2 separate regions of the Homo sapiens genome follow, and region 2 is linked to region 1. Evidence: promoter capture Hi-C in human tissues and cell types (Jung and others, 2019). All regions are on one chromosome and are shown on one strand. The core of a region is centred on a gene start or on the middle of the fragment in contact, and the rest is flanking DNA. Distances in the headings are between cores, read along the strand shown. Region 1 holds the start of FGL2 (fibrinogen like 2). Region 2 overlaps PHTF2 (putative homeodomain transcription factor 2).

The links. Contacts are between HindIII fragments. The study calls those that stand out against the background at their distance.
Region 2: a fragment that was not itself captured here is called in contact with the fragment with the promoter of FGL2 in region 1 in 1 of the 25 tissues and cell types used here (IMR-90 fibroblasts).

The regions. Positions count from the first base shown.
Region 1 is chr7:77,197,693-77,201,225 of GRCh38, reverse strand. It overlaps FGL2 (fibrinogen like 2), which reads left to right and starts at 1,407. Exons shown (of 2, transcript NM_006682.3): 1 at 1,407-2,045. The coding sequence starts at 1,433. All of the region lies in intron 2 of CCDC146 (coiled-coil domain containing 146), which reads right to left. RefSeq lists a silencer at 1,707-1,816. The HindIII fragment of the contact is 7,307 bases long and covers 1-3,533 here.
Region 2 is chr7:77,832,785-77,836,184 of GRCh38, reverse strand. All of the region lies in intron 1 of PHTF2 (putative homeodomain transcription factor 2), which reads right to left. Among named protein-coding and RNA genes, the nearest start is that of PHTF2, 36 kb to the right of the region's middle. RefSeq lists an enhancer at 768-1,268. The HindIII fragment of the contact is 4,552 bases long and covers 1-3,400 here.

The sequences.
Region 1 (3,533 bases), core at 158-2,657:
ATGAGGGAAGAAATAGCTAAATTCCTCCGCTACAGCTACAGGAACAAAGGCTCATTAAAGCTGATGATCTGTTTACATGATCAGAGGTAGATCTAGGGTTGGAAGCCAGGTCTCCTGAGTATGCGAGAATAAATACAGTCATGGAAGAGTAAAGAGTCTGCCAACATTTTGAGAATGTGAATAGGATTTGGCTAAAATTAAGGGGATATACAGAAAAGTCATAGGAAATCAGGTTAAAGACATAAATATGAGATAGGCTACAGAGTGTTTTAAGTAATACAATAAAACATTTAGATTTTTGCCCATGTCAGTCATTTTGAAATTATTTTTAAAGCAAAAAAACCCTTTTTAAACAAGAAATCTTATGAGATGTCAATATGCAAAACAAATTAAAAGGAGGTGGTTTCTCTAACTGAAGCTGTTCCTCTTTCCTGCCTTCAGCCTCTGAAGAGAAAGTTAGAAAACTATTATCATTAATGCTACATGTTTTGAACAAGCTGATATACCAAGTGGCCCAGAGAGCAGGTAGAAGAACCAGCGTGGAGACAGAAAGCAAGAGGCCCGCCTGCCAGGGCTACCTGCAGAAAGAAAGGGCAAAGATGCTGTAGGCAAGAGAAGTTCAGGACAGACACTGGCATAGCTCAAAGATTCACATTTGAGCAGCTGTGGAAGATGACAGTACAATTACCAAAATGTCGAAGGGCAAAGGAGGCAGCTACTGGTTTTGATGAAAGACAATTATGTCCTTTTAAATGGGTCTTAGACATTTAGACATTAATATACACTATGCTACGGACAAAGGAATAGAAAGTAGCACTTTTTTCTCCACTAGTTTTCTTCTCTTTTTCAAGTAGATGAAGCAAAAGTCAACTGCAATAGTCAGAAAGCTGTACTTTGTTACACTTAGAAACTTCTAAAAGTGCTTAAGATTTCACCTGAAAGTCCAACATGAAGAAAATACAGGCTCCCCAATGCCCCATTCTAAGAAGGAAAAAGGACCATTTTCATTTTAGTAACGTTTCTGTTCTATAGACAGTTTGGATAACTAGCTCTTACTTTTTATCTTTAAAAACTGTTTTTCCAGTGAAGTTACGTATAATTATTTACTTCAAGCGTAAGTATACCAAATTACTTTAGAAATGCAAGACTTTTCTTATACTTCATAAAATACATTATGAAAGTGAATCTTGTTGGCTGTGTACATTTGACTATAATAATTTCAATGCATATTATTTCTATTGAGAGTAAGTTACAGTTTTTGGCAAACTGCGTTTGATGAGGGCTATCTCCTCTTCCTGTGCGTTTCTAAAACTTGTGATGCAAACGCTCCCACCCTTTCCTGGGAACACAGAAAGCCTGACTCAGGCAGCTGCCGCTATTAAAGCAGCTCCAGCCCTGCGCACTCCCTGCTGGGGTGAGCAGCACTGTAAAGATGAAGCTGGCTAACTGGTACTGGCTGAGCTCAGCTGTTCTTGCCACTTACGGTTTTTTGGTTGTGGCAAACAATGAAACAGAGGAAATTAAAGATGAAAGAGCAAAGGATGTCTGCCCAGTGAGACTAGAAAGCAGAGGGAAATGCGAAGAGGCAGGGGAGTGCCCCTACCAGGTAAGCCTGCCCCCCTTGACTATTCAGCTCCCGAAGCAATTCAGCAGGATCGAGGAGGTGTTCAAAGAAGTCCAAAACCTCAAGGAAATCGTAAATAGTCTAAAGAAATCTTGCCAAGACTGCAAGCTGCAGGCTGATGACAACGGAGACCCAGGCAGAAACGGACTGTTGTTACCCAGTACAGGAGCCCCGGGAGAGGTTGGTGATAACAGAGTTAGAGAATTAGAGAGTGAGGTTAACAAGCTGTCCTCTGAGCTAAAGAATGCCAAAGAGGAGATCAATGTACTTCATGGTCGCCTGGAGAAGCTGAATCTTGTAAATATGAACAACATAGAAAATTATGTTGACAGCAAAGTGGCAAATCTAACATTTGTTGTCAATAGTTTGGATGGCAAATGTTCAAAGTGTCCCAGCCAAGAACAAATACAGTCACGTCCAGGTATGTATAATAATGTTTTCTTATCATATGTTCATAAATGTTATACAGCTAGAGAGTATCTATAAACATTAACCTGAGTCAGTAAGTTAAATAGATGACAGATTAAGTCTTTTATTTATCAAGGTGCACAGGAAAAAATAAATATCTTCTCAAATATGACCACATAAATATGACCTAATTACAAAAATCATAGTTAGTTCTGTATCCACTGGAAGTCACTTTCAATTTTAAGATCTTATTTGTTAATGCCAGACCTACTTGCAAGCAGAAGTAGAGAGAATTTCTTGATGTTTTAGTGCATTTAACTTGTCTCTTCAATGAGGTGTTTGAAAACAATAAAGATAAGGCGATGTTCACAATTGTGCCTTGTTTGTTGGAAATCAGTTTTTCTTGTGATTGACTGACTGCCGCTTCTCATGGCTAAAGAGGTCTTTGAAAGATTTTAGCAAGTAATCTAGTTCTTAATCCCAAATATCTGGAGAAAATGGGAGAGTTTACAGATGGAATAAAAGCAGTTTCATATGTGTGCACAAATTTTTGCTTTGAGACCTAGTGGCACAAAAAATATTTTAAGGGGAGAGTTTTAGCATGCCACTAAGGGAAGGTATTCATATTTCTTTCTCTTTTACCTGAAGTTAGAATTCAAGCAGATAGAAGTAGAACCCATCCTCACCATCCAAATTACTTGAATTAACTTTAATAAATACATGTGAAATTCCACAGACTTAATCGCCTACTCCACCCACGAACTAACAGTGGTATTGACTCTCCAAACCTTGGCTTTTCACCTGAGTCACTGGGACCACTGTTGCTGACTGTCTCATACTTTGGAAAGCCATCTCCGCATTTGGACCTCTACTTACCATGAACGTGAGGTTGAAAGGACAGGGCGGAGATCACTTTCATTTAGAGACAGTATCTCAGGCATGCTCCATCCCCAGGGCATCTGCCAGTGAAGGAGGGAAGGGTCATATTTTCAAGGACCTCTATTGGTAATACTCCTGGCAGCCTGCATCTGAATGTACCTGGCACACTGCGAATCCAAGGTTCACCGCTTAGGTGACATCAGTGGGTATACATTAGATTAGATGCTGCATGGCAACTTGTCATGATATGAAGACTATTGTCTATTTTTCTCCTAAACATTTTGGGTGAAATAACTGAATATTCTGAGCTCTAAATATACAGGAATAGATTTTTATGCCTTAGGGTATCTCATATTAAACTTACCTTATTTGTCACACATTTTAATAAAAACTATCTGGGAGTAAATATCTGTCTGATTCATACAGAACTTTGTTAACTGATTATTATGCTTATCCTCAATATAGTCACCTGTTGTTTCTTTCTAGAAACCCAACATGTGAAATAGTGGCTAAATACTTTCCTAGATAATAAATACAGAATAAGAATATTGGTGTGTCATTGAAAAAGATACTTCTTTTTCACTTGAGCTTCTTTATATAGTTGTCAAGTGAAATGAATATG
Region 2 (3,400 bases), core at 423-2,922, 630 kb before region 1:
TCCACTTAAAGAATAGTAAATGTATTTTCTCTTCTTCTTCCTCTTCTTTTTTTTTTTTTTTTTTTGAGATGGAGTTTTCGCTCTTGTTACCCAGGCTGGAGTGCAATGGCGTGATCTCAGCTCACCGCAACCTCTGCCTCCAGGGTTCAAGCGATTCTCCTGCCTCAACCTCCCGAGTAGCTGGGAATACAGGAATGCGCCACTACACCCGGCTAATTTGTAATTTTAGTAGAGACAGGGTTTCTCCATGTTGGTCAGGTTGGTCTCAAACTCCGGACCTCAGGTGATCCTCCCGTCTCAGCCTCCCAAAGTGCTGGTATTACAGGTGTGAGCCACTGTGCCCGGCCTATTTTCTCTTCTTTACAATTTAATAACACTTTTTCTCTAGCTTACTTTATTGTAATTATACAGTATATAAACATATAACATATAAAATATGTGTTATCTGTTTATGTTATTAGTAAGACTTCCTGTCAACAGTAGGCTATTAGTAGTTAAATTTTGGGGGATTCAAAAGTTACAGCCAAATTTTCCACAGCACAGGGGTCAGTATCCCTAACCCCAATTGTTCAAGGGTCAACAGTATAATAATGCCTATGAGTATTCTTTGTACAAATATGGTCTCCCACATTGTCAGATTTTTAACCAATCCCCATGTTACAGAAATTCTATCAAATACTACATAAATGTTACCATGTACATCTCTCATTATTCTGAAACAAATTTGTCTGTTCTGGCATGACTCTCACTAGGCTCAGAAAACAATGTATTTCCACCCCTGACACTTTGCGTGTGTTATTATTATTCCTATTCCATTCTTTTCTCCACTCATACATCCTTCTAAATCAGCTCAAATCCTACTTCCTCCAAGATGAAGCTTTCTTTTTTTTTTCTTGTTTTTTTTTTTTTTGAGACGGAGTTTTGCTCTTGTTGCCCAGGCTGGAGTGCAATGGTGTGATCTCGGCTCACTGCAACCTCCGCCTCCCAGGTTCAAGCAATTCTCCTGTCTCAGCCTCCTCAGTAGCTAGGACTACAGGCGCCCACCACCACGCCTGGCTAATTTTTGGTATTTTTAGTAGAGACAGGGTTTCACCCTGTTGGCCAGGCTGGTCTCGAACTCCTGACCTCAGGTGATCCGCCCGCCTCGGCCTCCAAAAGTGCTGGAATTACAGGCATGAGCCACCGCACCCGGCCAGCTTTCCTTTGGACTAAAAAATGCTGAAGCTTAATGTCTCTCTTCTAGCACCAACATATGCTCAAAAATCTGTAATTTAAATAGAAATGTAAAGCAGTATGTGGCCACACAGGTCACTTGGTCATATGTAAACACTCTTAAGGAAAAAATGTGGCAACATTCTTTGTCTCTAAGTACTCAGTACACTGTAATATATGGTACAGGAAGTACAGCAGATAAAAAGCAATGACTAAGCATCAAGATAATTGGGTTCTAGATCCAAGTTCTGATACTAAGAGCTGTGTGCTCTTGAATAAGTTACTGAGTTCTCTGGACCTCAGTTTTCCCCAAGTGCCATCTAGCCAGATATTCCACAACTCAATAAAGGTTAAATAACAATTGTGTGAAAAGAAAAAGAGCTCCGAGCAGTCTGAGCCATGTGAGGTAGGCAAGCACAGACACGTGAGTATAGGACTTGAGTCAAGCCCCTACACCCAAGCCTGGGGGCAACTGTTTAAAGTCATTTTCTTCCTGACTAGCTGCCTCACTCATTTATCTTCATGTTTCTGGAATTTGTGATACAAAGAACAATGTATAGCCAATCAACAGTTTATGTTATTTTAACATAAATTCTCAGTAAACAACTCAGGAACTGCTTCTTCCTTCCGTTTAAAATTTTTTTTTTTTTTTTTTTTTTTGAGACAAGGTCTCACTCAGTTGCCCGGGCTGGAGTGCAGTGGCACGATCAGGGCTCACGGCAGCTTCGACTTCCCAGCTCAAGTGATCCTTCTGCCTCAGCCCCCAAAATAGCTGTGACTATAGGCATGTACCATGATGCCTGGCTAATTTTTTTTAATTTTAGCAGACACGAGGTCTGGCTATGTTGTCCAGGCTGGAAAAATGCACTTTTAACTGCTGCTAATCAGAGGGTATATTCAGAGCAACTCAAATCTGTGCTCCCAGTTGCAATCCTCAAGCTTGATTCAAATAAACCCTCTAATTGTATTAATTTTGCTCCAGCTTCTTCCTTTCAGGTCACCAATTCCAATAATGTACAGAAGTTTCTCTGAATTCTAACACACCCAAAAACATTAATATTACTACTTAAATTAGTGTTACATATATGGAATTTAACATAGTAGAAACTGTTAAACTAAATAAAAAATATCTTATTTAATTTATTTTTAGAGATAGGGTCTCACTGTCACCCAGACTGAAGTGCAGTGGCTTGATCATAGCTCACTGTAACATCAAACTCCTGGGCTCAGGTGACTGTCCTGCCTTAGCTTCCCAAGTAGCTAGACTCAGCAACAAAAGGGCACATAACATATCCTCATGCACATCCTGCTGAGAAGTATATCACACAAAAAGTTGCATGCCACCAAACTAGGCTATTTTTTAAATCTTTTGTAGAGAGAGATGGAGTCTCATTATGCTGCCCAGGCTGGTCTTGAACTGCTGTCTTCAGCAATCTTCTTACCTCAGCCTCCCCAAGTGCTGGGATTACAGGTGTGAGCCACTGCGCTTGGCCCTAAAGAGCTTTTAATTTTTTAAAGGTAGTTTTTATAAATCTCCTCAGACTCTCATATTATTATTCCATTCCAACAACCTTGTATCATTCTCTGCTGCTTACAAAATAAAATCCACAAGTATTTAGACTCTCTACAATCTGACCTTAATTGTCCAACATTATTGCTCATCATCTTCTCATATGTCTTGTTTCAACCATCCCATACTTTCAACATTTTTCTACCTCTGTGCCAAAATTAACACTTCTCTTTCTAAAACAAGGAAGATTTTGACAAGACTTCCAAAATTCCACTTTCTCCATAAGTTTCTCCCAAATTCTTCCATTTAATATTTCTCATCCTGTTCTGTGTTCCCCTTAGAGTAGCACTCCCTTTATCCAAGGCTTTGCTTTCCACATTTCAGTTACTGCAGTAACTGCAGTACAGTAAAATATTTGGAGACAGAGACCAAATTCCATAACTTTTCATTAGAGTATACTGTTACGATTGTCCTATTTTATTATTAGTTATTATCTATCTCTTACTTGCAGCAGTCCCCAACCTTTTTTAGCACCAGGGACTGGTTTTGTGGAAGACAATTTTTCCATGGCCAGGGTAGGGGGGATGGTTTTGGGATGATTCGAGAGCATTACATTTATTGTATACTTTATTTCTATTATTATTACATTATAATATATAATGAAATAATTATACAACT